Regions from separate parts of the Homo sapiens genome. Here all the other regions are linked to region 1. Evidence: promoter capture Hi-C in human tissues and cell types (Jung and others, 2019). All regions are on one chromosome and are shown on one strand. The core of a region is centred on a gene start or on the middle of the fragment in contact, and the rest is flanking DNA. Distances in the headings are between cores, read along the strand shown. Region 1 holds the start of MYL10 (myosin light chain 10). Region 2 overlaps CUX1 (cut like homeobox 1). Region 3 overlaps CUX1 (cut like homeobox 1). Region 4 overlaps CUX1 (cut like homeobox 1). Region 5 overlaps CUX1 (cut like homeobox 1). Region 6 overlaps CUX1 (cut like homeobox 1).

Region 1 (4,839 bases), core at 902-3,401:
CCCCAGGCAGACCTGGAATTCCAGTTCCAGAGGACACTTACTCTCCAGGGTCCCCTGGCTGGGAGCAGAGACCTCTCAGAGTGTCTCTGACCCCAAGAACTGGCCCTGGCCCTGTGGTCAGTTGAGTCAAACAGTGTGACCCAGCCACGACAACTGACTCATTGCAGTGTCACCTGGGTGAGGGGGCTGCAGCTTGGAGAGGCTGCAAGTTCTGTCAAGGACTCCATCTACACAGGGGGAAAGGGGGACAGGGGAAGGCTCTGCCCTCCAAACCCCAGGCCGATGACCCCAAAGCCCACCTCCTTCCAATGGCACTAAGCTTCCCGATGGCAGCCTCAAGGGGTCCTGGCTGCTGGCACCATTTCTCAGATGGGGAAAACTGAGGGTCCCACTGTGGGTGCAGAACTCACGGCTCCCCCTTCTCAAGGCCACTGCACCCTCACACTTCCCGCCCCCCAGGAACAAACATCTCCCAACCATCTCACCCCGGGGTTTTCACGTCTCTACCAGATTTCTCACCGGTTCTTCCTGCCTCCGGTCCTATGAAGGAGGAGGCCAGGGGAGGAAATCCACTCAGACTAATTTGTAAGCCCGGTGTGATTCACCAGCGCCGCTTCCCCTCCTCCGGGCAGGCGGGGGGGCTCTCCGCTTGCTCAGGCCTGTCCCCGGCCTTTGGGAGCCCCTGCCACGGTCCTGGGCGTGCTCCCCGGAGGCAAGAGCCCTTGCTTGCAGAGGCCTCAGGGCAGCAGGAAGCCAGAGGCAGGAAGCAGGAGTTATAGGTCTGCTACCCACTCTGTAAGCCCAGAGCCAGGAGGCCCCAGGGCCAGGCTCACAGACCGGGCATGGAAAGCCTGCACCCTAGCCACTGTCGCGGTCACACAGGCCCCCTTCTGTAGCAGGTCCAGGCGGCTGGGACTGGAATCCAGGCTCCCGTCCCCAGAGCTGGGTTCTCCTTTCCGCCTGGCTTGTTGAACACCTGTGGAACGTGTGGTTTTTCTCCCCGGAGAGGAACGCCAGGACACCAGGAGAGCAGCCCTGTCGGGGAAACTGAGGCACACGGTTTCCTGCTGCAGAAAGCGGGCTGCACAGCATCATGGCTGGACCTGGCCCCAGCTCTGGGAGGAGCACTCAGTCACAGGAGTTTAGGGACATCAGAAATAGCTGTAGTCAGGGATGACTGGGAGGGAGCAGGAGGAGGGGAGAGTTTGGATGAGCAGAACCTTTTGGAAGCTTCCTTCTGGAAACACTAGAAAGAGGGGCTCTTGTCCTGGCCCTCCCTCTCTCTCTCTCTTTTTTTTTTTTTTTTTTTTTGTTTTAGAAATGAGACCTTGATCTGTTGTCCAGGCTGGAGTGCAGTGGTGCAATCACAGCTCATTGAAGCCTCAACCTCCTGGGCTCATGTGATCCTCCCACCTCAGCCTCCTAAGTAGCTGGGCCTGCAGGCATGTGCCACTGATACAGGAGGGGGGACAGGGAAGTGCTGAGAGGAGAAAGGCAGGGTCCCTGGCAAGGGCTCCACCCTTGGGCCTGTGCCCACGGACCTAGGTGAGGACAGGCACTCCTGTTTATATGCCCAAATGTCACATTTTCCAAGACCACCCTGGCCCACCACGCCCCCCGCCCCCCCGCCCATCCTGTGCCTATGAAAACCCTGAGACCCCAGTGGGTACACACACAGGTGGCTGGACATCAAGAGGAGCAGAGGATCGGAAGAGCACACCGACAGCACTGGCAGATGCTGGCAGGCCATCGACTGGCTGAATAACACAAATGCCCAGGGGAATTTGGCTGGGGATGGTCAGAGGAGAGTCTGGCTGCTGAGCACCTTGACTTCAGGGGAAAAATCACCTTCCCACTCCATCCCCCTTCTGGCTCCCCATCATCTGCTGAGAGCTACTTCCACCACTCAATAAAACCTCGCACTCATTCTCCAAGCCCACATGTGATTCAATTTTCACAGTACACCAAGGCAAGAACCCCAGGATACAAAAAGCCCTTTGTCCTTGCAATAAGGCAGAGGGTCTAACTGAGCTGATGAACACAAGCCACCTACAGATGGCAAAAGTAAAAGAGCATCCTGTAACACACGCCCACTGGGGCTTCAGGAGCTGTAAGCATCCACCCCTAGACACTGCCGTGGGGTCGGAGCCCCATAGCCTGCCTGTCTGCATGGTCCGCCTAGAGGTTTGAGCAGCTGGGCATGGAAGAAGCGAGCCACACCCCCATCGCATGCCCTATGAACGGGATAAGGGAACTTTTTCACTTCACCACTATGCCTGACTAATTTTTTAATTAAAAAAAATTTTTTTGTAGAAACAGAGTTTCACCATGTTGCTTAGGCTGGTCTCAAACTCCTGGCCTCAAGTGATCCTCCCTCCTCGGCCTCCCAAAGTGCTGGGATTACAGGTATGAGCCACTGTGCCTGGCCTCTGGCCCCACTTCTTATCTGCCTTGGGTGAGTGACTTAACCCATGCGTGCCTCAGTTTCCTCATCTGGAAAATGGGATATGGATTGAATGTGAGGACACGTGTTTTAAGACATGGCCTGACCTTCTGTGTTGTATATTAGCTGCTCTTCTTATTATTATTATGATATTCCCTTCCCCAAAGGCAGGGGATCAGCTGTACCCGGGGCTGAAGGCCTGAGGCCAGCTCCAGGGACAGTTAAGCTCTCCAGCCCCTGGGGACCCGTGGGCTCACTGCCTGAACCCAGCACTGCCGGCCCTGGCAGCTGTTCAGATATGGCGGGCCCCAGATGGACAGTGGCAGCCTCTGAGGCCGAGCTGGGGCTGCTGGGGCTGCACTAGACACAGGAGGGGCTTTCCAGGGCAGGTGTGGGCTCTGTTTGGCAGATCTACTAGAGAATTCTTGGGCTGGGCCAGGCCTGGTGGGGATGGATGTGTGTGTGTGAGGCCAGGGTGGAATGGAGGTCTCATTTTTCAGTTCTTCCTCATCAGAGTCACCTCCAGTTTTCTGTTTTCTTTTTTTTAAGAGACAATATCTCACTCTGTCGCCCAGGCTGGAGTGCAGTGGCACAATCATAGATCACTGCAGCCTCAAACTCCTGGACTCAAGCAATCCTCCTGCCTCAGCCTCCTGAGTAGGTGGGACTACAAGAGCACACCACCATGCTCGGCTAATTTTTTTGATATTTTGTAGAGATAGGGGTCTCACTATGTTGCCCAGGCTGGTCTTGAACTCCTGGCCTGAAGCGATCCTTCCCTCTTGGCCTCCGAAAGCTCTGGGATTACAGGCGTGAGCCACTGCGCCCACCCCATTTTTCTTTTATTTGTCCTGTTGCTTTCTCTGTTCATTGAGCATTTCAGTGCCCTGAGGGGGTCCCCTGGCCTGGGGGTGCTTAATGGACACCCTGATAATAGGCATATTGGTAGAAGGGGCCCCCGAGGGCCAGGTTGGTGCAGAAACTCTCTCCATAAGCAGACCGGGGGTTTCATACACTCCCCCCTATTCCTATGAGATGGCTGAGCCTCCTAGAGGGTGATGTCCCACCCAGAGTCCCACAGCTCCAGAGGTCCGGCCACACTGCAGTCTGAGTGGGTCCCAGCCAGCATGGGTGGCCCCACCCTGGGCAACACTCCCTGACGGCTCAAGGCCAAGTCTTCCCATTGGGGTAGGCAGCCTCAACTTACTCTGTGTCCTTGGCCAAATGCCCCTTCCTGGGTCTTGGTCCCTTGGCTCTAGAGAAAACAGTTGGCCCAGGGCTCTCGGAGATCCTGGAGGCTTAGGCAGTCCCTGCGTCCGTGGTATTTGCCCACGGATTCCCCCCAACCCTATCCACTCTGAATGGCCCAAGGCAGGTGCCTGGCAGGGAGGTCTCCGTCCTGTCATGGATCACCTTCCACACTGGGCCCGGTGCATGCCAGGGGCCCTGGGAGGACCACTATTTAAGGGCCATCTCTGAGCTATCCCCAGGCCAACTGCAGCTTCAGGGAGCTCTCCAGACCATGGTAGGCTGGGGTTGTTCTGCTCTGCCACGGCTACCTTCCTCTCACCTCCACCTCCTCCCTGGGGAGCTCAGGCCTGTGGCTGTTGTGTCTTTGGCTTCAGCACTGCGGTCCCCTCCCTCCCACCCCTGCCCCTGCCCCTGCCCCTGCCCCTGACCTCACTCCGCAATTCCTTTTCTTTTTTAGACAGAATCTCACTCTGTTGCCCAGGTTGGAGTGCGGTGGCTCGATCTCGGCTCACTGCAACCTCCACCTCCTGGCTTCGAGTGAGGTTCCTGTCTCAGCCTCCCGAGTAACTGGGATTACAGGCGCCCGCCACCACACATGGCTATTTTTTTTTTTTTGTATTTTTGGTAGAGACGGGGTTTCACCATGTTGTCCAGGTTGGTCTCGAACTCCTGACCTCAAGTGATTCACCCGCTTCGGCCTCCCAGAGTGCTGGGATTACAGGCGTGAGCCACAGCGCCCGGCCTCATTTCTCAACTTTGACCTTGTTCTGTGACCTTGACTCTGTGTGTGATTCTGACCTTCACCTCCTGCCTGAATTCATCCTGCCTCTCACTGACCTTCCTGACCTTAATCTGATGTTGTCCCTGGTCTGACCTGCTCTTTGCTCTTGATCCCATGCTTGGACCTGCCCCACTCGGGACTCCTCTCCACGTGGGTCCTGATTTGAGCCTCTGCTTTCCTGGACTTTGTGGGGACTGCTGGGGAATGAGGAAGAGGAGGGTGGAGAGAGACGAGGTGGGCAGGGCCTGGGGGCTTCACAGGGGCAGTGGCTCTGAGGGCAGGGGCCCCCTGGGAGGGCCGGGGGTCAGTATTTGGGGCAGCGTGGCACCTCTGGAGCTCCGAGGTCCCCCTGTTCACCTTTGCC
Region 2 (4,839 bases), core at 1,614-4,113, 400 kb before region 1:
CACTATATTGACCAGGCTGGTCTCGATCTCCTGGGCTCAAGCGATCCTCCTGCCTTGTCCTCCCAAACTGCTGGGATTCCACACATGATCACCTTTTTAATAGGAACACATCATAATGAAAGGATGGAAGTAAAATATTTTAAAAACCACTTCCAGGCCAGGCGTGGTGGCCCATGCCTGTAATCCCAGCCCTCTGGGAGGCTGAGGCGGGCGGATCACTGGAGCTCAGGAGTTCAAGACCAGCCTGGCCAACATGGTGAAACTCCCACCTCTACCAAAAAATACAAAAATTTAGGCAGGCATGGTGGCAAGAGCCTGTGGTCCTAGCTACTTGGGAGGCTGAGGTGGGCAAATCGCTTGAGCCAGGGAGGCAGAGGTTGCAGTGAGCCGAGATCATGCCACCCTGCTCTCCACCCTGGGTGATAGAGCCAGACCCCATCTCAAAAAAAAAAAAAAGTACAAATTATTTAATATAAATGTCACATTTTGGGAGGGATGATGCTGGGAGTGTCTAGAGATTTAATGTGCAAACAAGGACTATAGTAAATATAATTGCAATATGAGGGATTTCTGCTAAATGAGATCTTAGCTGCTCCTGCCACACACATGAAAAAGAGTAACTAAGGGAGACGATGCATATGTTAATTTGCTTCCCCGTATAACCATTTTACTGTCTGTATGTATCCCATAGCATCATGTTGTATACCTTAAGTATACATAATAAAATTTATTTATAAATTAGCGGAGGCTTGATAAATATTAATTAATGGTGCCAAAAAATTACCTTTCTTTTGTGGGTTCAAAATCTATGATAATTTTATGTATTTATTTATGATTAGCTTTCATATGGCCTTTAAAAAAAAATAGGCAAATGGAAGCTTAGCCTAGATGTTTCTTGGGTATTTCAAATTTAAGGTATCAGGAATCAAACCCATTATCCTACTGAGAATGTGGGCTAATCTACAAGATAATTTGCTAAGACTCTTCAAAAAAGCAAACAAACAAACAAACAAAAAAATCAGGCCAGGCGCGGTGGCTCATGCCTGTAATCCCAGCACTCACTCTGGGAGGCTGAGGCAGGCAGATCACTTGAGGTCAGGAGTTTGAGACCAGCCTGATCAACATGGTGAAATCCCATCTCTACTAAAAATACAAAAATTAGCTGGGCGAGGTGGTGCATGCCTGTAATCCCAGCTACTTGGGAGGCTGAGGCAGAAGAATTGCTTGAACCTGGGAGGTGGAGGTTGTGGTGAGCTGAGATTGTGCCACTTCATCCCAGCCTGGGGGACAGAGCAAGACCCTGTCTAGAAAAAATAAAAATAAAAAGAAATGAAGGTGATGGAGATGGAGAGGATGTCCTACATTAAAAGAGATAATGCAGGGGCCGGGTACAGTGGCTCATGTCTGTAATCAAGGCACTCTGGGAAGCCAAGGTGGGAGGATGGCTTGAGCCCGGGATGTCGATACAAGCCTGGGCAATGTATTGAAACCTCGTCTCTACTAAAAATAAAAATAAATTAGCCGGATGTGGTGGTGCACATGTATAGTCCCAGCTATCTGGCGGTGGGGGCAGGGGAGTGCTAAGGCAAGAAGATTGCTGAGCCCAGGAGGTGGAGGCTGCAGTGAACCATGATGGCACCACTGCACTGCAGCCTGGGTTACCGAGCGAGACCCTGTCTCAAAAAAAAAAAACACTTTTTAAAATAGAAAATTAGATAGACAGATTTCCAAATGTAATGTGTGAACCTGACTGGACCTCAGTTGCGAGGAGGGCCGTTATAAAAGACATCTTGGGGATAATTGGAAAAATTTGATTTTGGATCAAATATGAGATGACCTGGAATTACTGTGAATTTTCCCAGGTGTGATATTTGTGGTTATTGTGGTAATGTAGGAGAATGCTAATAATTCCTTAACTTCGGGAGCCTTCCACGTGTGTTTGAGGGACACAGTGCCTGCTTCTGCAACTTACTTCTGAATGTTCAGCAAAAGTGGTGGGCGGGGAGGGGAGGGGGGAGGTACATGGGGTGAAATGTTAGCAACTGTGGATCTGGGTAAAGAGCATATAGGTGGGCCGGGCGCAGTGGCTCACGCCTGTAATCCCAGCACTTTGGGAGGTCGAAGCGGGCGGATCACCTGAGGTCAGGAATGAGAGACCAGCCTGACCAGTATGATGAAACCCCGTCTCTACTAAAAATACAAAACTCAGCTGAGCGTGGTGGCACATGCCTGTAATCCCAGCTACTTGGGAGGCTGAGGCAGGAGAATTGCTTAAATCCAGGAGGCGGAGGTTGCAGCGAGCTGAGATTGTGCCATTGCACTCCAGCCTGGGCAACAAGAGTGAAAATCTGTCTCAAAAAAAAAAAAAAGCATACAGGTATTCACTGTACTAATCTTTCCATTTTTACACAGCTTTGAAATTTTTCAATAAGAAAGAAAAACAAGCAAACACCTAGAAAGCACACTGAACTCTTTGAGCGAGAGAACTAGGAAGCCAGTGGGTCTCCCAAAAGCCGCTGGACAGGTAACAGAACAGGTAAGATCAAATGTGGGTAGGTGTCAGGTAACAGCCTCACTCATCAACTACGGGCTTGGAGATGAAGTTCTGAGAAAAAGACTGTTCAAGTCCATCCAAGCCCTGGGATGCAGGTGTCCTGCTGGCCGGACCAAGCTACGTGCATGGGGGCTGAATGAGGCAGGAAGAAGATCATAAGAAGAGAGGGGTACTGTTCTGCCCTCGAAAATTTCCAGCCATCACCAACTGCTGTGTCTTCTTTCTACGCTGGTCCCTTTTGATGTCCTGAAATCGCCTCTCTGTCTTTGGCTACAATCGCCCTGGCCTCCTTCATTCACTCACTCCCTGCTCTCGCTCCCAGTTGATGAATTTCCCAAATGGAAGCCCGACAACTTGCTCTAGAGCTCTGGGACCAGGAACCCAGCCTTCCATATATAAGGCCCACATCACCTGTGTCCCAAGAGGAACCTACTGTATCTCACGGCCATATCTCTCCTGTATCTCACGGCCATATCTCTCCTGTCCCTTCCCCCATGTGTTCCCTGTGACTTAGCAGTTGCAAGAAAATAAAATCCCTGCCAGGCACAGTGGCTCACATCTGTAATCCCAGCACTTTGGGAGGTCAAAGCAGGTGGATCACCTGAGGTCAGGAGATCGAGACCAGCCTGGCCAACATGGTGAAACTGCATCTCTACTAAAAATAGAGAAATTAGCTGGGTGTGGTGGTGCACACCTGCAATCTCATTTGCTGGGGAGGCTGAGACAGGAGAATCACTTGAACCTGGGAGACGGAGGTTGCAGTGAGACTAGATTGCACCACTGGACTGTAGCCTGAGTGACAGGGCAAGACTCTGTCGCCAAAAAAAAAAAAAAAAAAAAATCCCTAAGACTGTACCAATATGGGCTCTTTCAGGGGCTTTGGAAATGTCTCGTTTCCTTTCCTTATCAGCCTGCTATGATTCCACTTTCTGTTTTTCCGTCGGGAGAAGCTAAAGAGGTGAGATTCAATAAATCCGCAAGAATAATATAATTTCTGGTTTTCTAAACATCACTGAATCTTCACACAAAGGGCTGGCAAAGAGTGTCACTCACGTGGAGCCCAGTCCCCTCTATGGCTGCTGTTCCCGCTAACAGGTAGCCAGGGCGGATGTCCCAGGTGACTTGCCACCCACGTGCCGTCTGCCAGATGGCTCCGTCCTTCTCTGGAAGGATCCGTTAGAAACCACTTCCTTCTACTGAGCCTAGGCTTGCTCCTCGTGGCTTCTGCTAGATGCTCTGTGTTTCAAGCCTGTGATCAAGTGGCCTCCCTGTGCCCCCGCCAGCCTCTCAGCAAAGCACCACACTTATGGCACACACTCATGGCAGTGGCAGCCCCAGACCAGCTCAGGGGGACAAGGCGACTTCCTAGAGGGGATGCATGGGCTCCTGAAGGCCGTAGCGCCAACAACCTGCCTGTTGCAACCACACACGGGGCACTTCTGCTGGCAATCCACCACAGCTCTGTGTATTCTGAGCATAGCTTCCTTTTCCAGGAGGGCTTTCACCAAGGACCCAATGGAAAATCACATCACAGAGCGCAAAATCTGCATGACGCTGGGTCGGAGCAGCCGGGAAGGCACCATCTGGGCAGCACCTTTTGCCCGGAGCATTTCTTTAATGTGAATAAAAAGACCAATTAGCCACGAAGGGTGGCTCAGGATAGAAAATGAATAGAAAAGCTTACCTCTCCTTGGAAACTCTTCAGCAGCGGCGCTACCTGCTTGCGCAAATCCTGGAGCAGGAGGCGGAGGTCAGGAAGCAGCCATTTGAGAAGGAGAAAGAAGGGAAACATTGGTTAAGGCCTCCTAAAAACAGCGTGGCAGTCAGTGCTAATTATCACTATCTAAAGCAAGCCTGGGACCTCACCCATTCCTGCACTCCTAAAACATCAATAACGCCAACTGGCGCTTCAGGATTTAAACTTATTTAAGAATACAACGAGGTGGTTCTTTGTTGTTCTTGTTGTTGAAGACAGAGTCTCATTCTGTTGACCAGGCTGGAGCACAGTGGCACAACCCTGGCTCACTGCAACCTCTGCCTCCTGGGCTAGAGTCATCCTCCCACCTCAGCCTACCAAGTAGCTGAGACTACAGGCGTACGCCACCATGCCTGGTTAATTTTTGTATTTTTTTGTAGAGACAGGGTTTCATCATGTCGTCCAGGCGAGGGTCAAACTCCTGGGCTTAAGAGATGTGCCCACCCTAGCATCCCAAAGTGCTGGGATTACAGGTGTGAGCCACCGCACCTGGCCTACAACGATGTTTTATTTCTACTAACTCCTGGTC
Region 3 (4,839 bases), core at 1,738-4,237, 380 kb before region 1:
CAGGACACAGAGTGGACACGGGAATGTATACCTTCTGGAAGCAGCCAGGGCCATCTCTTCATGACCCTGGGCAGTACCTTCAAAGAGTCCAGTCAGAGAGGACGCTGGGAAAAGTAGAGTGACTAGTCTATCTTCTGCTTTCATTATCATATTCCCCCATGTGACAAGTACAAAATCTTCAGCTACAACCTTTAAAAGCTACTGAAGGCCAGGCACAGTGGCTCACGCTTATAATCCTAGCACTTTGGGAGGCCAAGCCAGGTGCATGACTTGAGGTCATGAGTTCGAGACCAGCCTGGCCTACATGGTGAAACCCCGTTTCTACTAAAAATACAAAAATTAGCCAGGCATGGTGGCACGCACCTATAGTCCCAGCTACTTGGGAGGCTGAGACATGAGAATTGCTTCAACCCGGGAGGCGGAGGTTGCAGTGAGCCGAGATCGCACCACTGTACTCCAGCCTGGGCAACAGAGTGAGACCCCATCTCTTAAAGAAAAATTCTAAATAAATAAAATACATTTTTTTAAAAAAGCAAATCCTGTGAAATCAACAATATGGCAGACTATGTTTAAAACCTAATTGGGTGAAATTATTTTAGAATACCCTTTCAAAGAGTCCTTTCTGTAGTCCAAAATTATCTGAAATAAATAAATAAATTCAAGCGTCAACCAGCATGGCCAACATGGTGAAACCCCGTCTCTACTAAAAATACAAAAATTAGCCAGGTGTGGTGATGGGCGCCTGTAATCCTAGCTACTTGGGAGGCTGAGGTTGGAGAATCACTTGAACCCAGGGACCAGCGATCACACCATTGCACTCCAGCCTGGGTGACAAGACCGAAATTCCGTCTCAAAATAAAAAAATAAATTCAAGTGTCTAAGTAAGATAATAAAAATCCTCTCACCCTGCTGCCGAAAATGAGAGGGGTGTACCTCCGTGTCCTGCCCTGGTTAGGTACCGACTCCACCGGGTAGTTCTCCCACCCACAGGGAGTTCACCAAAAAAGGCAGAAGGCCAGGCGCGGTGGCTCATGTCTGTAATCTCAGCACTTTGGGAGGCCAAGGTGGGCAGGTCACCTGAGGTCAGGAGTTCAAGACCAGCCTGGCCAACACGGTGAAACCCGTCTCTACTAAAAACACAAAATTAGCTGGGCATGGTGGCGCACACCTGTAATCCCAGCTACTTGGGAGGCTGAGGCAGGAGAATCACTTGAACCTGGGAGGAAAAATAAATAAATAAGCAAGCAAGCAAGCAGAAGAGACCATGTTTGTCTCCAAAATCCCATCACCAGCGTATGAGAATAGCAAAACTGAAGAGAAACGCATTGGTGGTCTCGGGGAAGGGGCTGTAGGGGCTGAGCAGCTCCTGCCAGGCAGAGGATCACAAAATCCAAACGTGTCCTCCGAACGCCCACTGCGCTCTCAGTGCTGGGCTTGGCCACAATTTGGTGTGAATGCTTCAAGACTCACACCAAATCCTTGGCATGAATACACCATACAATGATATATCCAGAGACGGCTTACTCGAACAAAGAGACCGTCAATAACAATATAATTTTACTTTTTTTTTTTATTTTTCTGAGATGGAGTTTTGCTCTTGTTGCCCAGGCTGGAGTGCAATGGCATGATCTTGGCTCACTGCAACCTCCGCCTCCCAGGTTCAAGTGATTCTCCTGCTTCAGCCTCCTGAGTAGCTGGGATTACAGGCATGTGCCACCATGCCTGGCTAATTTTTTGTATTTTTAGTAGAGATGGGGGTTTCTCCATGTTGGTCAGGCTGGTCTCACACTCTCGACCTCAGGTGATCCGCCCACCTCGGCCTCCCAATGTGCTGGGACTACAGGCATGAGCCACCACGCCTGGCCAATATAATTTTACTTTTATAAAATGATATCCATGCTTTCAGCTTAGACACAAAGCACAACCGGCATCTTTTAGCGTGGTCCTCACGCCCGCCGGCAGAACTCCTTCACTGAGTTTCCTCAATGTCTTTTAGACACCTCTTCATCCTATAAATGTGCCACACATGCATGTGACATGTCCCTATGCACACACATATTTACTTAAATACGCACACACACATACAAACGAGTAACAGACAATGTCATCTCTACTTCCTTCCCTTTCCCGGAAGCTACAGGTATGTACATCACATGTATGTTGCCTGATATGAAAGAGAGGCCCAATCACGAATTCCATGATACAGATTTAAGAGATGCTATGCATGGTTCACTTGGTGAATCTCCCTTTCTTATGTAAGCACATATCCAAGTCAGTTTTTTTTTTTTTTTTTTTTTGAGACAGAGTCTTCTTGTTCTGTTGCCCAGGCTGGAGTACAGTGGCGTGATCTCAGCTCACTGCAACCTCCACCTCTGGGTTCAAGTGATTCTCCTGCTTCAGCCTCCTGAGTAGCTGGGGCTACAGGCACTCACCACCATGCCTGGCTAATTTTTGTATTATTTAGTAGAGACGGGGTTTCACCATGTTGGCCAGGCTGGTCTCGAACTCCTGACCTCAGGTGATCTGCCCACCCCCGCCTCCGAAGTGCTGGGATTACAGGCATGAGCCACCGCACCCAGCTGCACCCTTGCTGTTTCATATCATGGAATCTAGCACCGGCAGCAAGGGAGGCCGCCCACCTCACTCTTTCTTTTTTAAGAAGTCCGCAGTTCTGAGAGGTCAGAGCAACCTTTCTTTCATTTTCAAGCTCCCCATGTGTGCTGGAGAGGCTGTCTTTATAGGTTTTAACATGTACCAACCAGGGATTAAGCTAAGTGAGGCACGCCAGTCACGAAGGCTCACTGAAATTATGCCTGCTAATCTTTTAAATGGCAAGAACGTTAGGCAGCACAAAAGGAATGTTAGTAATTCCAAAGCTTTTACCCAACTGAGGAGGTTTAAATTTACAGGAACATGTACTAGAGATAAAGAAGTCCAAGGCCCTTGGCCAACCTGTCTGCCACGCTGGTGTGCAGAAGAACAGAAGATTCTGTAAGGAGAGAGAAGGGGTGGAGGCTGGAAGATGGGCAGAGGGCCAGGGTTTAAGACCTGGCGTGGGCCTGAACTCACCTGAATTATTTTACTTGTAGAAAGAGGCTACAGGTTGGGTGCAGTGGTTCATGCCTGGAATCTCAACACTTTGGGAGGCCAAGGCGGGAGGATCACTTGAGGTCAGGAGTTCGAGACCAGCCTGAGCAACATAGCAAGATCCCACCTCTAAAAGAGAAACTGGGTTCCCTGGTCTGGACTGAGCAATTTCTTTGGCCTTCTTAGAAATGAGCCGCTCTGCAGCCCCACGCAGCCTTTCTTCAGTGTGTACATTAGGGTGCTGTGCGGCCTAGGTGAGGGGTGTCACCTGGCCACATCCGTGGAGGGATCCTAACACCATCATTTGTGCGGTCAGCGTCATGACAGCCACTCCACTGTGCTTGCTTCTAGATGCTTCCAAACAGCCCTTCAGGTATGGAATCATCCCTGTCGTGTAAATAGGAAATCTGGAATTCCCAGAGGTTATACATTGCACCTGAGGCCATCTGGCTACAATCCAAACTCTGGGTGCGGCTGGCGCCAAAGCTACTACACCATGCTGCCTTCTAAGCTGCATTTCATCTGGAACCGCTGTGGCTGGCAGGCCGAGCCTCTGAACACTGCAATTCAGGTTAATCATGCAGACCTGCTGGAGCACGCGGGGCCGAGGGTTCCCTGTACCTCCCTTCTCTCCCCTGCTGTATGGATCTCTGACCTCACTACTGGCAGGCCTGAACTGCCATGAGTGATCAAGAACCTGAGAGGCCTCTGATCTGCTCCACCTACATCTGTGCCCACCAGGAAAAACAAAAATCCTGATAAAAGACCTGGGGTGCGCATCAGGATTCACCATGACTGTGCTGTGGTCTCGCCTCCTGAAAAGCTATTTTGTTCATCGTAAGTAGGCAGTTTGACAATTGCTCAATGTTCAGGCCCTACCCCATGTCCTGTCCTAGTCAAGGTCAGGGAAGGAAAGGTGCCTTGTCCCCAGGCATGTGGGCCCCCAGCAGAGCAGGACAGGCTGGGGACCTGGGGTTCTTAGGCTCTTTTGGTTGGGGGCTGAACACTGGTCATATCCCAATCTCTAGAGAGGGCAGAGGAGGACAGACACGCACTCTGCACCTCAGGGATTACACGAGGAGAATAAAGACACGCACACGACCGAAATACCAGGCAGGAAATGAAATGTGCCGAAAGACAGGCGCAGCTAGCCTACAACGGGGGCCCAAGGAATGAAAATCCCTCTTTGCTGGGCTGGGGGCACCTGAATTGGGTGATATTTGCCACAGAGGGGCGAGTAGAGGTGGGGGGGCTTTCTAGAAAGAGACAAGATACAAACAGAAGGAAAAAAGAGGAGATCCAGAGATACAAACAAGGTGAAGCTGATGGAGTAAGACATGGGAGAGGGGGCCAGCGGGGACAGGCTCCCAGATCACCGAAGCCCCTAGAAGAACCCAGACATGGCCTGAGAGGCGGGTGGACGGCCACCAACCATGCAAAAGGTAGTACGCAGAGACCAGACCAGGGTCTGCTTCAGGAAGGTGACTCCTGCTAAAGGACAGGCCAGAGGGGAAAGCCTGGAGATGGAAGATACCAGCTGGGAAATACAAGTTTGGACGAAGGTAACAGAACCAGAAGTGGTGCCTGTAATCCCAGCACTTTGGGAGGCCAAGGCAGGTAGATCACCTGAGGTCAGGAGTTCGAGACCAGCCTGACCAACATGGTGAAACCTTGCCTCTACTAAAAATACAAAAATTAGCCGGGTGTGGTGGCGGGTGCCTGTAGTCCCAGCTACTCAGGAGGCTGAGACAG
Region 4 (4,839 bases), core at 1,200-3,699, 360 kb before region 1:
AGAATCTGATGGAATGAGGAAGCCTTGCTTCCAGTAGGAAATCTGAGTGTCCTTCCCCTACAAATATTATTATTATTATTATTATTTTTTTTTTGAGACAGGATCTCACCCTGTTTCCCAGGCTGGAATGGCACGATTATAGCTTACTGCAGCCTCAACCTCCAGGACTGAAGCAATCCTCCTGCCTTGGCCTTCCGAGTAGCTGGGACCACAGGTGCATGCCACCACACTTGGCTAAATTTTATTTTTTTGTAGAGATGGAATCTCATTATGCTGCCGAGGCTGGCTCAAACTCCTGGCCTCAAGCAATCCTCCTGTCTTGGCCTCCCAAAGTGCTGAGATAACAGGTATGAACCACCGCGCCCAGCCCCTGGTATCCCGACGCAGGACTCTGTCGCAAGGAACCTGGGAGGCCACATCAAGGTATGGAGGCCTCTTTCCAAATGCCTGGAAAGCTGGAAGATCCCTGAGGACAATGGTGACAGGAGAGGCGAGGACATACCCCAGAGAAGGCAGAGGTGGAAAGGCAGCCCAGGGCTGTGGAATCGGACCTGGAGGGAAAGGAGGAGCAGGGAGACACACAGGAGAGCCTGGGGACACAGATCTGTGGCAGGAGGTGAAGAGGAAGAGCTGGCGCAGAAGCACCCGAGAGGCCCACAGCCCATGAAGTGTTTTCAGGAGAGTTAAGACCCACCATGGAGTGGGCGCCACAGTTAAGCCTGGAGGTTTTGCAGCCAGGAGGGGTTCTGTCTGGGTTTCTTGCCTCCCACCCCAGCCTCCAAAGTGGGTTGACACCAGCTCTGAGCTGTCAGCTGCAGACACTTATCAGACACCGGGGCTGACTCACGGAGAACAGCTTCTTCTTCTTTTTTTTTTTGAAACAGATTCTCGCTCTGTTGCCCAGGCTGGAGTGCAGTGCGTGATCTCAGCTCACTGCAACCTCTGCCTCCCGGGTTCAAGTGATTCTCCTGCCTCAGTCTCCCAAGTAGCTGGGATTACAGGCATGCGCCACCACGCCCAGCTAATTTTTCTATTTTTAGTAGAGACGAGGTTTCCCCATGTTGGCCAGGCTGGTCTCGAACTCCTGACCTCAAGTGATCCACCTGCCTCGGCCTCCCAAAGTGCTGAGATTACAGGCATGAGCCAGCAGCCCAGCCTGAAAAAACGCTTCTTACACCAACAGAGTCAGCTTTCTCTGAACTTGGCTGTTTTTGTCAAGAGTTCGTTTAGACTTTCTTCTAGGATGAAAAATCATGTGTATTTGTTTTACATCTAAGTAAGGAGTAATATGGAGTCAGACCAATTCCATTCATTTGCCGTTTCCTGTAAGATCAGCACTCTGATGTCCCTGGTGCAGTCCTCCCTCGGATGACCAAGGGCCCTCAGGCACGTGCCCTGCGCCAGGACACCGCAGCGGCCGGGAAAGGCAATGTCCCCGCCCTTGCTTCTAATGTGGAAGACAGAAGATGGAGAACAGGCGGTGAGTCAGCAGGCTTATAAGGGACCCCGGGGGTATCCCCTGTCCCACGGAGTCACCGGGGTCAAGGTTCCCCCAATAGTCAACTCATCAAATGTCTTTTGAATAAAAAAGAAATTCAAAAACTTTGAAACATGACCCTAGTCTGAAACAGACTTCAAAGCAAGCAGTGCTCCAGGACTCACCATTTCTTCCGCTTGAACCTATGAGAAGCTGAGTCACTGTCGCCAACCCATTACCGTGGAAGTATCTGAGCCGTGAGTGAGCAGCGGTCCATATGCACCCCTTTCCCGTAGCTTGGGGAGTTCCACATTAGGACAAGAGGAGCGCCTCTGTTTACCGTCGTGGCTCACGCACGGACTTCTGTGCAAGCATTTGCCCCACACTCATTCATCGATGATGTGCTGGGCACTGTGTCGGGATGCGGGAGTGAATCGAAAGCAAACAGATGACTGCAACTCTACCCATGGGCTACCCATGCAGGTGCCTCATTCCAAGACGGACGAGGTCAGAGCTCCAGGTGGCAAGGCCTGAGCTGAGGCACAGGGAGGGAGGAAGCACGGTGGGACAGGGGTGGCAGGAGCAGACTGGGGCACAGGAGGAGCCCAGAGAGGTGGCCCTGGTGTTCCAGGGAGGTGAGCGAGGCAGGAGCACAGGCTAGGACCACATCCCCACGGCTTCCAGGGCAGGAGCTGGCTTGTCCTTCAGGCCACAGGGAGCCACTGAAGGACCCTGCAGCAGGGCCCTGACAGCATCAGCTCTGAGTTGGAGAAGGAACATTCTAGAGCTCTACAGTCTCACATTACAGAGGAGAAAGACTCTGCTCTGGTAGGGTCCGGAGTTGGGCCCTGGTCTCCTTATGCCAACTCAATGGTCCTTACGGTCCATTTCCTCTCGTCTCCAAACCACCACCAGTTAACACTTGGTTCTGTGCGAGAGCTGGAAGACAAGCCGAGGGAGGGCATGCCTCCAGGCAGCAGAGCCCACGGGAAAAGGGCTCAGAGCTCATCCCCATTCCTTTACAGAGGCTCTGTCACTCACCAACACAGCGATGGGCCTGGGGAGCCTGCAACCCTCATCCTCCTTGGGAAGATTAAGTAAAAGGACACAGTGCCGCCTGTAATAGGCATTCAGGAAGGGCTGCCAGCTCTCTCTTAAGTGAGTCATGAGACGAACAGGTTTCTTATTCAATTAACTGAGAGCTCATTTCTGTAACATTTTCTTTCCTTATGGAAAAGAGCCTTGTATTCTAAATAAATACATATCTTGAAAACAAGCTCTTGGGTCACAGCCCAAAAAAGGAAAAACACTAAATTCCACACTCCTCTTAGGGGAGACAGACCTACTGATCTCACCGATGAAATGTGACAAAAATATGAAGATCCGACCCCAGTGCCTCGTTACCAATTCCATCTCTTGTTGTTAACACTTGTGCAAAATTACACCTTAAAACCAGGACCGGTTTCTATCTGTAAGCGTTCCTGAATTGTCTGTGAGGGGCTCTTTACAGTGGTGTTAAATTTCACCAGCTTAACAACTCCAGGCTTCTGACAGACAGATCTGGGGCAGCCCAGGTCCCCGCAGTCAGAAGCGGCAGGTCTCAAAGGCCAACAAAACAGAGACACTCTGGAAGGGTTCCTGTTTCAGGTACCTTGCTGCCATTGAAGCTGCGTTCCTTTAAAACCTTCTGGAAAGTAAATTTCTGCAACCTTAATGCACTGCCTGTCTAAAGAACCCCTGTGGGAACTCCCTCTGAAAAACAAGGAAGCTTTTGTAACGTCAAGAATCACACCACATCAATCTGCTTTGTAATTTTCGTTACACCATTACCTGGCAGACACTGACACCATACCCGGCACTGGGCTCAGTGTTGTGTTAGAGGGATGGTTTTACTGAATCCTCAAAACAGGGTGGTGGCTTTTGCTCTTATGCACATTTTACAGATGAGGAAACTGAGATGTGGGAATTTGGGAAACTTCCCCCAAAGTGGCCCAGCCACCTGGCTCCGGAGTCCAAGCTCTTAACCTCTCCACTGCAGGGCAACTGCAAAAATCTGGCAACAAGTCTCCACGGCATTCTCCTGGTTGTTCTAGGAAGATGTGGAGTTTGCAGCACGGCATGGTGTCAAACAGCCACATGCACAGCAGTCCTGCAGGCACTACCTTGCAGCTGCCACCATGATCGTGGACAGAACGCTCCTCTTGGCCCCAGGTACTGACACCATGCCAGGCTAGCTACATTTCCCCAGTTTCCCTGAACCCCCAGGGCCTGTCTGTGTCTCCCCCACAGGGCAGGAAACCCCTTCCTCCAGAGGCTGATCTCCCCGCACGACCCCCCTCTCCCGTCTGCAGAGCAGCTCAGAACCAAAGGTGAAAGTATCTGAAAGCCAAGACTATAGCGTGTATACACATAGCAATTTGTTACTGTGAGAAACCATCTGTTTCTCGGTATTACAATCCTCAGAGGGCAAATTATAGCTAGCGTTCAACATAAAACATCAATTTAAACCATCAACTATTCATAATTTCAATTCTTTATTGGAAACCAAGGACATAAATGTCAGGGAATAAAGCAATATTTCTTTTATTAACTATTCCATTCATCTGGCTATTAAATAAAACCAGGGCCCCAATAAATGGCAGGAGTCCTTGCCTGAGAGCCACACCAAATAGCTCTATAATTCTCAGACGTTTTAAAACAACGAAAACTGCATTATTTGAAAAGTTAGAAACTTTAATATATAATAAAATTAAGATTAATGCGATCTTAATACCTTGCAAAACTGTTTGCCATGCCCTCGTATTCATATATTTCTTCTTGCGCGGTTTATTTTTAACAGTGCTCATTTTGTACTGAGAACGTGCTGTTTTTTACGACTGAGTTTTGCGAACGCCAGCCACCTCCAGCATTTTTCACTGACATCTAGTTTTCCCAGGCTGATGTTCCCTCCCGACTGCCCATCTGCGCTTGTGCCAGGAGGGATGCCATCATCCAAGCACAACCCAGGGTGTGGGTGGCCTTCAGAGCTCAGTCCTGCAGGACTTGCACCCAACAGCTCGCCTGAGAGTGCAGGGCAGGTTCTCACTGCAAGCACTTTTTTTTTTTTTTTTTTTTGCCGGAGAACAATCTGAGCGTTCAAAAATGAAATCTACGAAGCACGGAAGAGAATATTTACACCGTCCTTTGTGTACTAGGCTGTATATCGAGGTTTTTATCTACATTGTCCCACGACAATCTTACAGGGTGGGTACACTTTACAGATCATCAGGATGCAAGTTTGGAAAGGTGAGTCAGCCACTGGTCCCATCCATAGGAGGCACACCCATGTGTTCAACAATGAGGAAATAAAGAGAAATAAAACA
Region 5 (4,839 bases), core at 589-3,088, 320 kb before region 1:
TGTACCAGGGCGGGTTGAAGGTCAGCAAATGTCAGAGAAGAGAGACTCTGTGATGCCCCCCCAGCAGAGCCACCAACCAGTAGCCCCTGGCTAATTTGGCTCTTACAACAAAGTAGGGCTTGAGGGGATCCAGATACAGAGGCCCAGACTCAAGGGAACTCGGAGACCCAGAGGGACAGAGACACTTCTCCATCTTTATAAAGAAATCAGACAACTTGAACACTGGAAATCTACAAAGCAGGCAACGTTCCAAGGCTAGCCCTTATTTTAAAGGCTCGACTTTATTATAAAATCCCGAGGCACCACGTTCCCCTATGAAAAGCCAATTCCTAAAGTGGATCTAGGGCACAGAGGGAATGGATTCTCACTCCATCAGAGCAGACAGTTTTCCGCTTAAGAGATGTAATTGCAAATCATTTTAGAAAACCCTCAACAACTAATTGTCGTGATAATGCCAAGTTTACGGAGCCCAAATAATGGACAAATATCACCACGTAATAGAATAGGACAAAAATGGTAATTTTACTATGGAAAGTTGGAACTTGCCATTTCAAATTAGCAGAAGCTGTGAAGTGGGCATTACTGACAATGTGAATATAGTAATTGGGGCTGATTTCTTGGCGCCTGGCCGAATCTGGCTGCCTGGCGTCCTGTGAGTTAATTATAGCTCTGTTAACAGAGCGGGGGCAGGGAACTCGGCAGTGACGCAGAGATAAAACTCAGCCCAGGTCTCTGCAGATGAGGCAAAATGTGAGTGTTTTGGCTGGAGATCAGGTGCAACAGAAATTAGTCCCAATTAATTCCGTAAGCAATAGTCCTCAGGAAATACAGACATGGATGGCTAGGGTCAACAATTCCTGGGAGCTGAACTTTCTGAAGGTGTCCTTGCTAACTCAAAATTGGTCTTCATCCTTTCCACATTGCCAGTGGAATGGCTAAGTAAGTCATTTTTGTCTACATCCAAAAATATTTCATTTACTGCTTTAAAAGATTCCTTTTAAAAAAATCCCAGGAATCAAAATATGTGATTCTGTCCAAATTAGCTCTCTCCACAGACTGAGACAATTATTTCACTGTGGGCTTTTTTGGAAATAAATCTTTCTTTTCTTTAATTTTAGAGACTGTATTGTGCACTTTGAGATTTAAGATGGAATTCATTTCATCCCCATGTCTAAGTTGTTGCCTGTCTAATACGTTGGCATGCCCCGTGCTGGGGCACCAGTTTCTTTAAGAAACTGATGAAGGTGTGTGCGGGATTAACTTATGGTTGGATATGGGGTAAATATTTAAGCTCGGGCTCGGGCCTAGAATAGTGAGGTGGTTTTTTCGGTTTTTGTTTTTTTGAGACGGAGTCTCGCTCTTGCTCAGGCTGGAGTGCAGTGGCATGATCACGGCTCACTGCAGCCTCGAGCTCCTGGGTGCAAGCAATCCTCCTGCCTCAGCCTCCCAAGTGGCTGAGACTACAGGCACATGTCACCACACTTGGCTAATTCTTTAATTTTTTGTCAAGACAGGGTCTCACTCACTATGTTGCCAAGGCCGGTCTCCCAACTCCTGGGCTCAAGGGATCCTCCCGCCTCAGCCTCCTAAAGTGCTGGGATTGCAAGTGTGAGCCACCACGCCTGGCCATTTTACAATGAAGTTACTCAAGTTTTAAATCTGTCATCAAAACATTTAAAATAAAAGTTCTTGGGACCTACTTCCACTCTCCCACCCAAATCGGCTTTGTCCCCTCCCAGCTGAAACCCTGGGTGACACATCCCGGGCCTTCTGTGGCTCCTCTCCCTGTGCACTGTTTTCTCACCGCCGAGCTCACGGAGAGACTGGTTCAGGGGTGCCACCTCCTTGGTCTCACTTAACATTGTCCCCTGAGCCCTCCCCAGCAGCAGCATGGGTTGAGCATCAATACTGGAGTCTGCTGAACTGAGTATGAATTCTCTGAGCAAGTCTATGCCTCCTGTGGCTTTCATCTTTTGTAAAATTAAGACAGCAAGGCCTACCTCTGATGACCACGGGGAACTCATCTGAAAGGCTTAGCAGTGAGTGATCTTTCCTTCCTCTGCCCCCCTCCACCAGCTCCTGGCCTCACTCCCCACCCCAAATCCAACCCAACATTTGCCAGCTGCAAGCTTCACCGCCACTGACCCTCCTGCTGGAAACCCTTCTCTCTTTTTTTTTTTTTTTTTTTTTGAGACGGAGTCTCGCTCTTGTCACACAGACTTGAGTGCAGTGGCACGATCCTGGCTCACTGCAACCTCCACCTCCCAGGTTCAAGTGATTCTCCTGCCTCAGCCTCCCAAGTAGCTGGAATTACAGACGCACACCACCACGCTGGGCTAATTTTTGTATTTTTAGTAGAGACAGGGTTTCACCACGTTGGCCAGGTTGGTCTCAAAATGAACTCCTGACCTCAGGTGATCCACATGCCTTGGCCTGCCAAAGTGCTGGGATTACAGGCGTGAGCCATCGAGCCCAGCAAACCCTTCTCTTCCTAAGCGCAATCTTCCCTCCTGCTGGAAACCCTTCTCTTCCTGACCCGGGTCCAGAGAAAGCTGCCGTCTGACCCACCTGTCGCTCCAAGACTGGTTTTGGTTCTTCTACTCTGTCTGTCCACACATCACACTAGAGAATGCCATCACCTCCTCAGTCCCTGACTGCTGGTTTCCTCTGGGGCCTTCCATCCTCCACCCTTCCAAATCCACAATTCTACCTTGACCTCTCTCCAGGTGCCGCCCTCCTGACCACAGAACCACTCATTGGAAGTGCATAGAACTCATTCTTTAAATAAGCAAATGCCTTGTCTTGACTCCTAAACCAAGCCCTGTGCCTCTGGTGTCCCCGGCCTTGGCTGACACAGCTAGAACTCTTCCTGCCACTCAGACCCATAGGTGGAGGGAAGGGAAGGTGATACAGGCTCATCAGAACCACGTTCCTGAGCACAGGAGGTTTGGGACAGCAGACACGTCTGGCTCCCTGAACCTAGCGGACTAGAACCCCCAACTCCTCCCTCTTGGCCTGCAGCCCTGCATGCAGAATCCTGTAGATCTTGTCCCTACTCCTCTTGCCATCCAGGTCTTCCCCACAGTCCCCACAGCCCTGACCAGGACCTGCATTGGGCTCTCAGGATGTCCCACTGGGTACTCAACTCTCGTTCAGAACATCAGCTCCACGAGGCCAGGACTATGACCTGCCTCCCCGGCACCTGGGACCGTGCCCAGCATAATGAGAACACTCGATACACAAGGCATTTCCATGAGTCCTTGTGCAACTGTAAATAACAATAAATTAACTCCCAGGTATAAATTACAAAATGCAACAGCGAGGAAATGTACTCGCAATTTAAATAAAAGTATTAGTGACTTTTAATTTATTTTATTTTCCTGGCAAGAAACTCTACATTCTGTGGAGTGGTTTCGGTGGTGGTGTGCTTTGTGTCTAAATGACAGTGGAGGTGTCGAAAGCAAGTGTATCCTGTAGCTGAAGGTGCAGAGCCGGAGCCTGCCTGGGTGGAAGCCGCTGCACACAGGCCCTCATGGCTCTGCCCTGAGGTCGCTCTGCCCTGTCTGCAAAAGACCTCATCCACCCCTGACTCCCAGCACGCACCTAGCACCTGCCCCGCAGGCTTGGTAACCAGTGGGTGACTGTGTGTGGAAGGAGTCCCAGAGTGGGCTTGGGAGGTGGGGTGGCACCCTGGGGTGACAATTTCTGGGAAAGTGCAATGCTGTCTTATTTTCTCACTCTCGTGGCATTTGGTGTTAACTCTGGGTATTGGAAGAAGCAGCTTCATCCCCAGGCTAAATTGCAACACCTTGCTTCAGAAAAGAGGCCCTCTCATTTCATACCAAGTGGGGTCAACCCGGCAGCAGTGATGTGCAACACGGCCTGCACCAGTGTGGCGACAGATGCAACCTGGGTGTGCCCACCTGCTCCCTGGGTGGCCCGAGGTGACCGCTGCAGGTCTGCAGCATCCTCCAGGAGGAAAAGCACCAACCAAGAGGCACAGGGTTTAAAAACAGAAACAGAATCACCCATGAACATACACGCCACAGCAGATGACATGGACTGCCCGGAGGAAACGACCCAGGGTGTCTTAGCAGGAGCTCAGTAGAAAAATTCCGGCTCCTGGGTTTGATTTGAGAAATGCACCAAAGTGTGACCTTAGGCAGATCCCCACTTCCCTCATCTGTGAAGTGAGAGGGGCAGAAGGCTGGATTGCTGGTGTCAACTGGTGGCTCACTGGCCACAAACAGTCACGGAGGAGCATGCGTCTCCCGCGTGAGCCAGGATGGTAACACCCAGTGCTTCCCCCAGACCTTGGTAGGTTTATGTCTTACTGCTGAGACTGCCAGAGCACAACGCTGATGTTGAATGCTAGCCTATAAATGTATCAACGCCTTCCTGGGGAAAAGCAGGAGCTCTGTTTCCATGGCACTGGGGTAGATGAACAGCTGGCAGTGCAGGACACCCCTCCTGCCCCTTCCCACTCCATCCTGCAGGACTCTTGGACACAACTACCCCCTGCAACCCAGCCCACTGCGCCCCTTTCTGGAAGGAGCCATCGGGAGGGGCTGGGACAGTCTCCCTGGGTGGGGACAGGGCTCCCTATGGATCCATTACCTGCTCTCAAGGCCTGAGTCACTCACACCTGGGATGGCTGAGCCCAGTCAACTGAAGAAAAAAACAAGTTTTCTTTCCCGAGTCACAGCACTAATAGAGGCTTTGGCAAGAACCTGTGTGCGGCTCAAGTTGTCTTTTTTTTTTTTTTTTTTTAATTTTTAAATAGAGACGCGGTCTCGCTATGTTGCCCAGGCTGGTCTCAAACTCCTGGGCTCAAGGCGA
Region 6 (4,839 bases), core at 2,340-4,839, 290 kb before region 1:
CCTCACCGTGCCTGCCAGGGTCGGGAAGGAATCCACAAATCTAGCCAATTTCAACGATGGTAAAAGATTCCTTTCCAAGTCCTATCTCAAGACAACTCCCAAGCCTGAATTTTTACAACTGCTACCCGGGAACACAGAAATCAGAGAAATGCGCCAGGCCGGCGTAGAAGGGGCAGAGGAAGATGTTGGCACCCAGGAAAGGAAAAGAAAGTGGATGGGCAGTTCTGTGAGCAGCACAGGGTGCTCCCTGTTGCAAGGTGGGCATGCTGAGCCAGGCGTCTCCGACAGTCAGGGCTGCCGCCGCAGCCAACAAGAGCCAGGATGGAGACCTGGGTGTGACATCATGTGCATCTGAGCAGGACAGGTGTAGAAAGCACAGACACAGACTGTGAGCACCGCAGACCAGGCATCGTTGGGATTAACGTTCCAGAGATCAAGAAATGTAGAGGCAAAAATACATCAGGGCAAAAATGACCAGTGACGGCCCCTGAGCCGCAGCTCGGCTCTCCTCCCAGAGCAACGGGGTCTGTTTTAGAGGAGACAAAAATTAACTGAGCAAAGTCCTGCAGACAGACACCCAAGAAGCGTTCTGGAGTAGGACTGGGCCGACTGACGTCACCAGGATGAGGGCTGGGGATGGTTTCATGATAAAATCACAGCATCTCAGGAATGTGGTTCTCCTCCTCTCTTTTCTCCCATCAGAGAAGGTTCCTCCCATATTGAAAAGAAGCAGAACAAAACCCAAAACCATCCCTGAGCTCTTTCTGGAAGCAAGCCTAACACAGACGACCATTTATTGGAGAGTTGAGCATCACATTCAAATAGCAGAGCCCTGAAGCCAGGCCGATGTCGCAGGAGCACTGGGGGTTTCTCCAGGGAGGACCCCACGCTGGGTTACCTGGTCTCCAAACTGTCCAGCCACTCTCCATCCACTAACTCCCTACAGCCAGGCCAGTGAGCCGGGGCTGCAGGTCAGACATGCTGCAGACCTCCCGTAACCTCGCCTCCAGAAGAACTCTGGAATCACACACGCGGGAAATCGGAGTTTGACCGCGATCAAAGCCATGGAAAAGCAAACGGCAAACGGAAAAGCTAAGAGACACTTTCTGGGGTTTGCGAGAGCTAGGCTTTCAGCCTCCACTGCTCACATACATGATTCTAACACCACCAGGCTTCCAGATAGCTGCTGCTGCTCCCTCCTGACATGCTGTGGCCAGCCCAGTGCAGAGGTGCTGCCCCTGCTGCCAGCCCGTGGAGCCCCTTGTCACATCAGGTGGCCTTGCTCCTTCACCCATCTCCCACTCCCCAGCACCCAGCCCAAGGCCAGGCACACCCTGTCCCTGCCCAGCGGTCAGGCCTTGGTACTCATCTGTCACCCACCCCAAAGCTCTAGAATCCCCCCTCCTCCCTCCTTCATCCCCTTCCACCCCAGGACACAAGGAGGAGAAGGAGAGTAGAGGTGACCCACTGGTTCTCCTGGAATGGTGAGCTGAAACTGGGACTATGGGCCCAGAGAACTGGTGTTCTAAACTAAGGCTGCATGGATGAGTGTCTGGGAGCCCCCCAGAAACTGCAAACGTGCATTTCCCAGGTGCGTAGGTCCTCAACTTTCATGGATATTTTAAAGGTTAAGAACCAAGGCTCAAAAAGCAGAACTGTTTATCTATAAAAAGGGTTACTGAGCCATATGTGGCTTATCCAGAGAACTTTATCACCACTGACATAAGAGTGTTTCTGTGGGGAAAGTCTACAGTCAGAAGATTCCAGTCATTCTATCCTAGCACTTAACACGCTCTGCCATTGGGTTCTATTTGCTTACTAAGAAAGATAAGAAACTTTTTAAAGAATGGAGATAGGGTTTTATTCCCAGGGCCAAACTGTCTGGCACATGGAAGGTGTTCAATAAATATTTGTAAGATGATTAATTGTTATTACAAACCAATTTTTTTTTTTTGAGACAGGATCTCACTTTGTTGCCCAGGCTGGAGTGCAGTGGTATGATCATGGCTCACTGCAGCCTCAACCTCCTGGGCTCAAGCCATCCTCCCACCTCGGCCTCCCAAGTAGCTGGGACTACAAGTGTACACCACCATCCTGGCTAATCTTTTGATTTTTTTGTAGAGATGGAATCTCACTATGTTGCCCAGGATGGTCTCAAACTCCTGGTCTGAAGCGATCCTCCCACCTCAGCCTCCCAAAGCACTGGGATTACAGGCGTAAGCCACTGTGTCTGGCCACAAACCAACTTTTGAAACACTTTAAGCTGAAACTACCTATATTTGTTGTTATTTTTTTTTTAAAGTTGCCCGAGCTAAGGCCGGGTGTGGTGACTCATGCCACTTGGCACTTCGGGAGGCCGAGGCGGGTGGATCACCTGAAGTCAGGAGTTCAAGACCAGCCTGGCCAACATGGTGGAACTCCGTCTCTACTAAAAATACAAAAAATTAGCCGGGCATGGTGACGGGTACGTGTAATTCCAGCTACTCAGAAGGCTAAGGCAAGACAATCACTTGAACCTGGGAGGTGGAGGTTGCAGTGAGCAGAGATGGCGCCACTGCAGTCCAGCCTGGGTATCAAGAGTGAAACTCCGCCTCATAAATAAGTAAATAAATAAATAAATAAATAAATAAAATAAAATAAAACATAGAAATTCCCCAAGCTAGCTCTGAGGAACAGAAATCCACTGTATCTCATGAGTTACACGGTGAGTATTCCCAGGTTAATGCTAATAACGAACATAAGCTAAACTCTAGGGACAGGCCTGTGCGCAGCCCTTCTCGTACAGGCACATGGGTACGTACACACACATATGTGCACACAGCAACCCTGCGAGCGGGGCCCTGTTGTTACATTATTTATAGATGACAGAACTGGGGCTTTGGGAGGTATCTGCCCCAAGACGCACAGCTACTAAGTATGTCGCCTTAAGTAAGAAATACAAAAATCAGAGCTGGGCGCAGTGGCTCACACCTGTAATCCCGACACTTTGGGAAGCCAAGGTGGGTGATTTAGCTTGAGCCCAGGAGTCTGACACCAGCCTGGGCAACAAAGTGAGACCCGGTCTCTTCAAAACATAAAATTAGCAGGGTGTGGTGGCACGCACCTATAGTCCCAGCTACTCTGGAGGCTATAAGGAGAGGATCGCCTGAGCTCAGGACATCGAGGCCACAGTAAGCTATGATTGTGCCACTATATTCCAAAAAAAACAAAAATATAGAAAGCAATATACCCTAGAAACACTCCACCGCCTATTATGTTCCACGATTGATTCTTAATTCAATAGGGAATGGATGTTCAGTTAGAACATTTAAAAATGTTTTTCTTTCAAAGGGACTCTTTTTGTAGATTCAAAGAAAACGTATACAATTTTATCTGCAGAGTAACTGCAATCTTCTGCAAATTAACTACAATTTCTGGATTAAAAAGACACAATATCATATGATGGCAAATATATTAATCTAATGATATAAAACTGAAACTTTAAAAAACTAATTCTAAACAGAAAACCTTCAACTGGGCGCAGTGGCTCGTGCCTGTAATCCTAGCACTTTGGGAGGCCAAAGTGGGAGGACCCTGCTTGAGCGCAGGAGTTTGAGACTAGCCTGGGCAACAGCAAAAGGCTCTGTTTCTACAGAAAATTTAAAAACTACGGCCAGGCGCGGTGGCTTACACCTGTAATCCCAGCATTTTGGGAGGCTGAGGCGGGTGGATCACAAGGTCAGGAGTTCAAGACCAGCCTGGGCAACATGGTGAAACCTCACCTCTACTAAAAATACAAAAAAATTAGCTGGGTGTGGTGGCGCATGCCTGTAATCCCAGCTACTCGGGAGGCTGAGGCAGAAGAACTGCTTGAACACAGAAGGTGGAAGTTGCAGTGAGCCAAGATCGTGCTACTGCACTCCAGCCTGGGCAACAGAGCAAGACACTTGAAGAAAAAAAAAAAAACACATAAAAATAAAATAAAATAAAATATACTAGCCAGGCACTGTGGTGCCACGTTCCTGTAATCCCAGCTACTCGGGACACTGAGACGGAGGGATCACTTGAGCCCAGGAGTTGGAGGCTGTAGTGAGCTGTGATCGTGCCGCTGCGCTCCAGCCTGGGTGACAGAGCAGGATCCTGTCCCCAGAAAAACCCTTCAAGGCTCCAGCCATCCTGGCGCTCACCTCCTGATGTTCCTGTGGCTTCTCCCGCCTGTCAGAGTCCCAGCCACCACACAGCACCCCTCCCTGGCCACCTCCCCGTCACAGCCCACCTTTTCCCTCCTGGACTAGAGCTTTTCCCAGTGACATCTGGGAAGGGCCAGTCTAGAAGGTGAAATCTCCGATGGCAGACAAACTTTACTCCCCACTGAACCCTCGCGGGTGCCTAATCCTCCCTGTGGAACACATTAGACATTCATCAGACACCAGGAAACCTTTCCTTCTTTCCCAGAACAAAGAGAGACGTGGGCGTTTCCATCAAGATCAACACCCTTGGTGTCACACCAGCAGGAACACCACCAGCCCTGGCTCTGCCACGCTGTGCCCTGGAAGGTATGTTGCCATGGGGATCGTGGGCTGCATCCATAGGGAAGAGGATACCCTCCTCCCGGTAAGCCAGGCTGTCCTACCCAACGGGCGAAAGCTCTAAGCAAGCCTCGTTTCTACACATGCAACAACCCGACGTCACCTCCACGGTTAGTAATCAATCCTGCGGTGTGGCCAGAGGAGCAACCAGTGTCAGGGCAGTGGTGGCTCCTCAAGACTGAGACCCCAAACAAACGGTGACCCAGTGTCCCCTTGGGACACAGGCCAGGCACTGAGCTGAGGCTCCACACATGTGCTATCTACACACACA

Evidence for each region. The method cuts DNA at HindIII sites, captures the fragments that hold promoters and counts their contacts. A contact is called where the count stands out against the background at its distance.
Region 2: a fragment that was not itself captured here is called in contact with the fragment with the promoter of MYL10 in region 1 in 2 of the 25 tissues and cell types used here (dorsolateral prefrontal cortex and mesenchymal stem cells).
Region 3: a contact is called between a fragment that was not itself captured here and the fragment with the promoter of MYL10 in region 1, in 2 of the 25 tissues and cell types used here (heart right ventricle and spleen).
Region 4: a fragment that was not itself captured here is called in contact with the fragment with the promoter of MYL10 in region 1 in 2 of the 25 tissues and cell types used here (heart left ventricle and mesendoderm cells).
Region 5: a fragment that was not itself captured here is called in contact with the fragment with the promoter of MYL10 in region 1 in 2 of the 25 tissues and cell types used here (H1 embryonic stem cells and dorsolateral prefrontal cortex).
Region 6: a contact is called between a fragment that was not itself captured here and the fragment with the promoter of MYL10 in region 1, in 2 of the 25 tissues and cell types used here (IMR-90 fibroblasts and spleen).

What each region holds. Positions count from the first base shown.
Region 1 is chr7:101,626,608-101,631,446 of GRCh38, reverse strand. MYL10 (myosin light chain 10) reads left to right here and starts at 2,151. Exons shown (of 8, transcript NM_138403.5): 1 at 2,151-2,406. The coding sequence starts at 2,329. The HindIII fragment of the contact is 21,528 bases long and covers 776-4,839 here.
Region 2 is chr7:102,027,545-102,032,383 of GRCh38, reverse strand. CUX1 (cut like homeobox 1) reads right to left here. Exons shown (of 24, transcript NM_181552.4): 3 at 4,239-4,286. Among named protein-coding and RNA genes, the nearest start is that of CUX1, 210 kb to the right of the region's middle. RefSeq lists an enhancer at 1,674-1,723. The HindIII fragment of the contact is 5,342 bases long and covers 193-4,839 here.
Region 3 is chr7:102,007,855-102,012,693 of GRCh38, reverse strand. The region is part of intron 2 of CUX1 (cut like homeobox 1); the gene reads right to left. Among named protein-coding and RNA genes, the nearest start is that of CUX1, 190 kb to the right of the region's middle. The HindIII fragment of the contact is 3,917 bases long and covers 1,029-4,839 here.
Region 4 is chr7:101,984,249-101,989,087 of GRCh38, reverse strand. All of the region lies in intron 2 of CUX1 (cut like homeobox 1), which reads right to left. Among named protein-coding and RNA genes, the nearest start is that of CUX1, 170 kb to the right of the region's middle. RefSeq lists enhancers at 1-155, 945-2,144, 3,647-3,806, 3,131-4,043 and a silencer at 705-999. The HindIII fragment of the contact is 3,801 bases long and covers 549-4,349 here.
Region 5 is chr7:101,943,896-101,948,734 of GRCh38, reverse strand. All of the region lies in intron 2 of CUX1 (cut like homeobox 1), which reads right to left. Among named protein-coding and RNA genes, the nearest start is that of CUX1, 130 kb to the right of the region's middle. The HindIII fragment of the contact is 9,788 bases long and covers 1-4,839 here.
Region 6 is chr7:101,919,233-101,924,071 of GRCh38, reverse strand. All of the region lies in intron 2 of CUX1 (cut like homeobox 1), which reads right to left. Among named protein-coding and RNA genes, the nearest start is that of CUX1, 100 kb to the right of the region's middle. The HindIII fragment of the contact is 7,119 bases long and covers 30-4,839 here.